Regions from separate parts of the Homo sapiens genome. Here region 1 is linked to region 2. Evidence: promoter capture Hi-C in human tissues and cell types (Jung and others, 2019). All regions are on one chromosome and are shown on one strand. The core of a region is centred on a gene start or on the middle of the fragment in contact, and the rest is flanking DNA. Distances in the headings are between cores, read along the strand shown.

Region 1 (3,992 bases), core at 490-2,989, 49 kb before region 2:
AACCCCGTCTCTACTAAAAATACAAAAAATTAGCTGGGCGTGGTGGCAAGCGCCTGTAGTCTCAGCTACTCGGGAGGCTGAGGCAGGAGAATGGCGTGAACCCGGGAGGCAGAGCTTGCAGTGAGCCAAGAGAGCCAAGATTGTGCCACTGCACTCCAGCCTGGGCAACAGAGCGAGACTCCGTCTTTAAAAAAAAAAAAAAAAAAAAAAAGGCTGGGCTTGGTGGCATGTGTCTGTAATCCTAGCTACCCAGGAGGCTGAGGCAGGAGAATCACTTGAACCTGGGAGGCGGAGATTGCAGTGAGCCAAGATTGCGCCACTGCACTCCAGCTTGGGTGACAGAGCGAGACTCCGTCTCAAAAAATAAATAAATAAATGTGTAGAAATGAATGTTTTCATTACAATGGCTGATCTAAAATAAAGACAGAGCCAACAGGAAACTTCTTGCCCTAAAAACTGGCTTGACATGAGTTTCTCATCACCTTTTTATAAGAAAAGGATTTGGAATTTAATCATTTGAAGGAAAATGAAAGACTATCCAAATTATTTTTCATTCATGTGTGTATTTATTTTTAAAGGGTAACTTTAGGAGTGAAACATGAGCTACCCATGCTAGTTCCTTGCAGTCATGCAGGTATCAAGGCTCCTGGCCAAATCCTGCCTGTGAAGCAACAGCAGCACCTCAGGGCTGTGTCTGTTCTTTTTCTCTATTGTAGGGAGTAAGTTGAAGTCAATACTTACTGGTTAGTAGGAAGATAAAAGAAAAAAGAAAAGGAGTTTTATTTTTTAACTCTAAAATACCCTGAAGTAGTCTCTGTAGCAGAGACAGAGGCAAGCCTAGGTGGCCTGCTTGATTCGTACGTCTCTATGCTACTCCTCAAGGAAATCCTGAATGTTAACTCCTCTTGTGTATTTAAAGAATAGTTTAATTAAAACTCTCTCCCCTCTTTATAAGAGAATAGCCCTTTTGTTTATCGGGAATCACTTTTTTTTTAATTGTAGTAAAATACACATAATGTAAAACTTACGACTTTAAAATGTACAATTCTGTGGCATTTAGTACATTTACAGTGTTGCGAAACTATGAAGACTATCTAGATCCAGAAATTTCATCACCCCAAAAGGAAAACTCCATATCCATTAAGTGGTGATGGAATAATTTTTATTTCCAGTGTTTTAGAGTGAATATTAAGGTATATCATCCTCTACTACTTGAAAGTAATCTATGGTTAGCAAGTCAAGTACTAGGATCTGGGTTTTATTAAATTAATAAATATAAGTTTGGGCTCATACCTACCTATGGGTCTCTTCTCTCTCTCTCTCTCTCTCTGTGTGTGTGTGTGTGTGTGTGTGTGTGTGTCCCTTTCTCTTGTCTGTATCTGGGTACATTAATATATAGGAAAGTCCTTCCTTTTTTTTGTTTTTGTGAGGGAATCTTGCTCTGTTGCCAGGCTGGAGTGCAGTGGCACGATCTGGGCTCACTGCAACCTCCGCCTCCTGGGTTCAAGCAATTCTCCTGCCTCAGCCTTCCGAGTAGCTGGGACTACAGGCACGTGCCACCATGCCCGGCTCATTTTTTGTATTTTTAGTAGAGACAGGGTTTCACCGTGTTGGCCAGGATGGTCTTGACCTCCAGACCTCGTGATCCGCCCATGTCAGCCTCCCAAAGTACTGGGATTACAGGCATGAGCCACCGCGCCAGGCCCCATTCTTCTTTATACAGTCATTCACAAGCAGAAGTTAACATTTTGAAGGTAAAAGAAGGAAAGGGGAGTGTTCTGTTATTTCATTCTTCAGTTATGCTGAAGGCTTTTTTTGGGATATTGTCAGTATATACATTTATCCTCTTTGGATTCTTATTAGATTCTAATTATAACAAAGGTCTTGGTAAATAGCTTGCTTTCTTTAATTTAGCATCTTTACGTCTAACGTTAATTGAAGTAGATATTCAACTTGTAGGTTGACTTGAACCCATAAATAGATGCCGAAATCCAAAAGGGTCCATGTTGTGGACTTTCAGATTAATAAGGAAAACACTTTTCTTTAACGTGCAGTAGGCTTGTCCTAGGATTAAAGCCACTTTTTGTAAAATGGGCAATTTTACAGTAGCCTAAATAAATCAAAACTTTAACAATAGCTCCCAAGGTCATTGAGATATATTAATATTACAGGGGTCACTGTAAAAGCTGATGTCTATTCAGGAACCCTTTTCTCCAGTTCCTTAGAGGAGCTCTTCACTTCCAAATAGATACCAAAAAGCCTACAAGGCCTTCTAGCACTGTGACGACCAATTGGATAACAACCAAGGGAATTGCAGGATGAATGACATCCTGCTATCTCTGGTTCACCTTGCTAAAGATGCCCTCAGTGTAGTCTGTGGCAGATTTCTTCCCCACTGCTGGTGAACTCCAGTTACAAGAGCAGATCCATGGAATTGTAAAAGAGAAAAGTTGATGGACCCCCAAGAAATGTTGATCTGGTGATAGTGAGGTCCAAGAAAGAGATCATTAGATTGTCATGAGAAGCCAGCATCACTAATTCAGGCTATCTTCCTTTCAGAATTCAAGAAATTCTATTCTGGCCTCTTCTGGATTTGGAGCACCTCTCCCTAGTTCATCGCAACCTTTGACTTTTGGAAGTGGAAGGAGCCAGTCCAATGGTGTTCTAGCCACAGAGAACAAACCTTTGGGCTTCTCTTTTGGCTGTAGCTCTGCACAAGAGGCACAGAAAGACACTGATCTCTCCAAAAACTTGTTTTTTCAATGCATGTCCCAAACTTTACCTACCAGTAACTACTTCACTACTGTTTCAGAGAGTTTGGCTGATGATTCTTCTAGTCGGGACTCATTCAAACAAAGCCTTGAGAGCCTGAGCTCAGGCCTGTGTAAAGGCAGATCCGTTCTTGGAACAGACACTAAGCCAGGCTCTAAGGCTGGCAGCTCTGTGGACCGGAAAGTGCCTGCAGAGTCCATGCCCACCCTCACTCCAGCCTTCCCACGGAGCCTCCTAAATGCCCGTACCCCAGAGAATCATGAAAATCTATTTTTACAGCCCCCCAAATTGTCCCGAGAAGAGCCTTCTAATCCTTTCCTGGCATTTGTGGAGAAAGTTGAACACAGCCCTTTCAGTAGTTTTGCATCTCAGGCATCAGGTAGCTCCTCTTCTGCTACCACTGTCACCTCCAAGGTGGCACCCAGCTGGCCCGAGTCTCACTCCTCTGCAGATTCGGCATCTTTAGCAAAGAAGAAACCCCTCTTCATTACAACTGACTCCTCCAAGCTAGTATCTGGTGTTCTGGGCTCAGCTCTTACCAGTGGGGGCCCAAGCCTCTCTGCCATGGGGAATGGCCGCTCCAGCTCGCCCACCAGCAGCCTCACTCAGCCCATTGAGATGCCAACTCTCTCCTCTAGCCCCACAGAGGAGAGGCCAACTGTGGGGCCTGGGCAGCAGGACAATCCCCTCCTCAAAACCTTTAGTAACGTCTTTGGCAGGCACTCAGGCGGCTTTCTGTCCTCCCCGGCAGATTTTTCACAGGAGAACAAAGCTCCTTTTGAAGCTGTGAAAAGGTTCTCACTGGATGAACGAAGCTTGGCTTGCAGACAAGACTCGGACTCCAGCACCAACAGTGACCTGTCAGATTTGAGTGACTCTGAGGAGCAGCTGCAGGCTAAGACAGGCCTGAAGGGAATTCCAGAGCACCTGATGGGGAAGCTGGGCCCCAATGGGGAGCGCAGTGCTGAGCTGTTGCTGGGCAAAAGCAAAGGGAAGCAGGCCCCCAAGGGCCGGCCTCGGACTGCCCCCCTGAAAGGTGATCCTGCTGGGGCTATATTTGGGCTTTGCTCTGGCACTGGGCTCAAATGCCTGTCGTGTTCTTGTGCAGCAGAGGCACTCACTTTGATGGAGAGTTCTGTAATCTCATAGAATTACAGAGCCAAGAGGACCTGGCAGAGGCCCCTCGTCAGGCCTGGTTCAGGGCAGGATTGCATCTAAAC
Region 2 (3,780 bases), core at 1,237-3,736:
ATGAGAAGGAACTTTGTCACATCTAAGCTGTGGTGTGTTCCCCATGTGTGTGTACAACACTGGTGACTCCAGGAACCATTTTCACCTATTACCAGTGTTCCCTGGGGACTCCTCTTAATGTTTCCAAATGGGAAGGACAGTTGATTTCCAACATGAGGTTTTTTGTTTTTTATCCAGAAATATTTTCAGCAAAACTTTCCAACTGAGTGGAGTCTGATTAAGGATTTATTTGAAAATGGTGGGATTCATTGGCCCATAGGTACATTGGAAAATGTATATCTCTCCAGCTGTACTGTAGTGCCCTGCAGGCTGTTTATATGTTCACAGTTACTTTTTTTTTTTTTTTTAAATAAAAGTCATTTAATGTAGAATACTTTTAATTTCACTTTCTGTATTTTAATTTTGTTGAAGGGCTGATTGGGATTTCCATGTTCTTATTAAAAATCTAACAAATCTGTTTGGAGTGGACTAAATTATTCGTGTACCAACCCTTCTAAAATCAACATCAGATTGGGAGTTGGGTTGGAGGTGGGGGATTCATTTCCAGGTCTTCATGACTGTGCTACACCCAGATATTTTTCTTTGCTTGTTGAGACTGTGCCATGTTAGAAAAAAGGAAAGTGCCAGGGTGAGGTCAGTATGGTTTGGGGAATTGGGGGTAAGGGGAAGGGGCCACATGAATTAGAGGGTAGAAAGAGAGACATGTTTCCCCATACTTTATGCTTTGTGAATGGAGTGGGAAAGTTGGGGTCCTCCCTTCCTGTGGCAGAGTCTGGGGGGAAGGGTCATGGTGTGTGGCCTCAGCAAAGTTGGACAGTCTGTGGTGGGATTCTTAAGCAGGCAGCCTGGCTGCCTACATGAAACGTGTGGCCATAGATCCACCTTAGAGATGGTGGGAGACACTCATGTGGGATTTATCAAGCAGTAATTAAAGTGTTTCATTGTGGGGTGATAACAGACTGCATTCCAATTAGGAGATGTTTTCTGGAGAGGAAGTTGTAAAGAATAGCAAGAGGGGTTATCAGAGGCTGCTTTTCTGGAACGTTTTGGGAAACATCTTCCAAAGTGTTTGAACCTGGAAATATAATTTACCAGGTTAGAAATAGACCATTGTGTTGTTCAGGGATACTGAGCTTGAATAAGACCATGACTCTTTGAAATACACAGTTCTGAATGTGTCCTTTCAGCCCAGATGGGCACAGGTTGATGCTGTGGTCACCCGAAGGATTACAACTCAACATAAAGGGTAGAGGAATGCAGAAGCTCTAAAATGGGACAGGAAAGGAGAGCAATAGGGCTGGGGGTGTTGGTGGATGGTTGGAGGTTGGTTGCTTTCCTGAAGATCAGGAGGCAGGCTAGCCTACATTCTGGATATAAATGTCTTTAGAATCAGGACATTCACTGCCACTAGTGCTTGCTGATGGGGGTGGAACTGGAGCCCCAGGACCCTCTCGCAGCCCCTCTGTTTGAAAAGAAGGTTGACCCTTTGTTGTCAGTAACCACATTGAGAGCATAAAGCTCTGTTCCGCTGCAAAGCTTAGGAGCTGACAACCTAAAAAAGCAGACCAGCAGCCCGGTGGCTCACACCAGTGATCCCAGCACTTTGGGAGGCTGAGGCGGGTGGATCGCTTGAGCTCAGGAGTTGGAGATCAGCCTGGGCAATATTGCAAAACCCCATCTTGGCAAAAAAAAACAAAAAACAAAAAAACAGGAATTAGCTGGTGGTGTTTTGGGCCTGTAGTCCCAGCTACTCGGGAGGCTGAGGCGGGAGGATCATTCAAGCCCAGGAGGTGTGCTGAGATTGTGCCACTGCACTCCAGCCTGAGCGACAGAGTGAGGACCTGTCTCAAAAAAACAAAACATCATCTGGTCAGGGGAGATCCTCTTTCAACGGGGTGAGAAGGAGTGGGGTGGACAGGTGCGGCTGTACCTGTGACTCAGGAGCTCAGGTGGATGTCTTCAGGGCCTGTAATGAGGAGAGTTTGCTAGTCAGCAGTTGGGGGATGTAACCTGTTTAAAGTAGGCTTCCTGGGGTCATCTTAGCAGCATGACTTGGTGGCTTTGTGACTCTCAACAGATTATTGAGCCTTAAGCTTCTCATTCCCTTATCTTCAAAATGAGGGCTTTTATAGCGCCTGCCTTATAGGGTGGTCAAGAGGATTCACTGGCAACGCAGTGAAGCTCTTAGCACAGGGGCTGGCACACAGTAAGCGCCTGGTGTGGGCAGGGCAGGAGGTGGGCAGGGGTCGATTTCAGGATGTAACCATGGAGACCTCCACGACAACAGCCTAGGGCTTGAAACCCAAGAAAGATGAACAAGCGATTCGAGGAAGGCAGGGCACTGAGGGTCGGAGGCGCATGCCCGGCCACAGCAGGTGCCGGGGCGGGGGCGCGCCGCCGCCGCCGCGGCGGCCTCCCGGCCTCCCCTTTAAGAGCCGCCACCGCCCACGGCCCGCCGCTGCGGCAGGGACCTCCCCTTTAACGGCGGCGCTGGGCGCTCCGCTGCCCCCGCGGCGGCTGCTGCAGCGGCTGCTGCTGCTACTGCGGCTCCTGCTGCCGCCGCCGCCGCCGCTCGGCCTCAGGCAGCTGCATCCTCGGCCGGGCCGGGTCCCCGCCCCGCGCCGCGCCCGGCCCCGCCATGGTGTCCTGGATCATCTCTCGCCTGGTGGTGTGAGTGCGGCGGCGGCGGGGGGTGATGCGGGCTGTGATGGAGGGCGGGGGTGTTAAAGCCCGGGTGGACTTCTCCGAAGCTTCGTGCAGCAGAGTCACCTAAAGGCGCTGCGTCCTTATTTGGGGCCCCCAGAGACATGGAGATGTGGCACCCAGGACTGGAGGGGGGAATATTAGGGGAGCGTGGCAGGCCTGGCTTCCCAGGGACCTCACCCACATTCTTTATTAATAACCTCTTTTATTTCTACCGTCCTTGCTCCTGCGCCCATCCTAGAGGCTGAGCAGCACGGCTTGATTTAAAAGGGGAGGCAGGCGCGTCCCCTCCCCCACCTAGCAGGTCTGGGCTGGAGGAGATCCTCAGACCCGGGCCCTGTCCCTCTGGGGGAGGTAACAGGGTGATGGAAGAGAGTGGAGCAAGGCAGGGCCTCATCATCATTCCGCAGCTCAGAGCCATCACCAGGCCCCTTGGTCTCTCCCTTCCACTCACTGTCAGGAGACTGGGGACGAGGGCATATGCCCTTAGGCCCCCTAGGGAGGAAGTCTGGGTATCGGGAAGCAGAAATGCTCGGAGGACAAAGTGTGAGAGGTAACTGGGAGAGGGGATGTGTGTGCTCAGCCTGGGATTGTGGACCCCGCTGGGGGAGGACGCTCCGTGGCCTTCATTCCAGGCTGCCAGCCACACTGTGGAGCTGTGTCTCTGGCACCTCCCCGGGCCCCAGGAGGGAACACACACCATTCCCCACGAGCCCAGACTTTGTCCTTGAGGATTCTGCTCCGCACTCCACTTGCACCAGCCGGTTTGGAAGTATCCCTCCTGTCCATGTGGAAACAGGCGACAGCCACACATTGTCAAGGGGCTGAGCCTGACAGGGGCTCCTCGTGGTTCTCGGAGCTATCCCCTGCCCTAATGAGGACACTGCCCCTCGGCCTCCACCGTTGGGGACTGACACCGGCAGCCCCACCCTGCTCCCTTCTTCCCATTCGGTACAGCCGGGCCGGCCAAGTGCTTCTGTCCTGGTTTACTCTAGACTCCTTCTCTTCCCCCACCCATCCCAGGGGGAATGGAGGGGCCTCACGCCTCCATGTGGCCTTCAGGGTGGCTGCTTCTCT

What was found. Contacts are between HindIII fragments. The study calls those that stand out against the background at their distance.
Region 1: a fragment that was not itself captured here is called in contact with the fragment with the promoter of REEP2 in region 2 in 1 of the 25 tissues and cell types used here (bladder).

The regions. Positions count from the first base shown.
Region 1 is chr5:138,388,454-138,392,445 of GRCh38, forward strand. KDM3B (lysine demethylase 3B) reads left to right here. Exons shown (of 24, transcript NM_016604.4): 8 at 2,560-3,808. Among named protein-coding and RNA genes, the nearest start is that of KDM3B, 38 kb to the left of the region's middle. The HindIII fragment of the contact is 4,652 bases long and covers 1-3,992 here.
Region 2 is chr5:138,436,571-138,440,350 of GRCh38, forward strand. REEP2 (receptor accessory protein 2) reads left to right here and starts at 2,487. Exons shown (of 8, transcript NM_001271803.2): 1 at 2,487-2,670. The coding sequence starts at 2,639. KDM3B (lysine demethylase 3B) reads left to right here. Exons shown (of 24, transcript NM_016604.4): 24 at 1-457. RefSeq lists a silencer at 2,315-2,734 and an enhancer at 3,120-3,653. The HindIII fragment of the contact is 10,254 bases long and covers 1,815-3,780 here.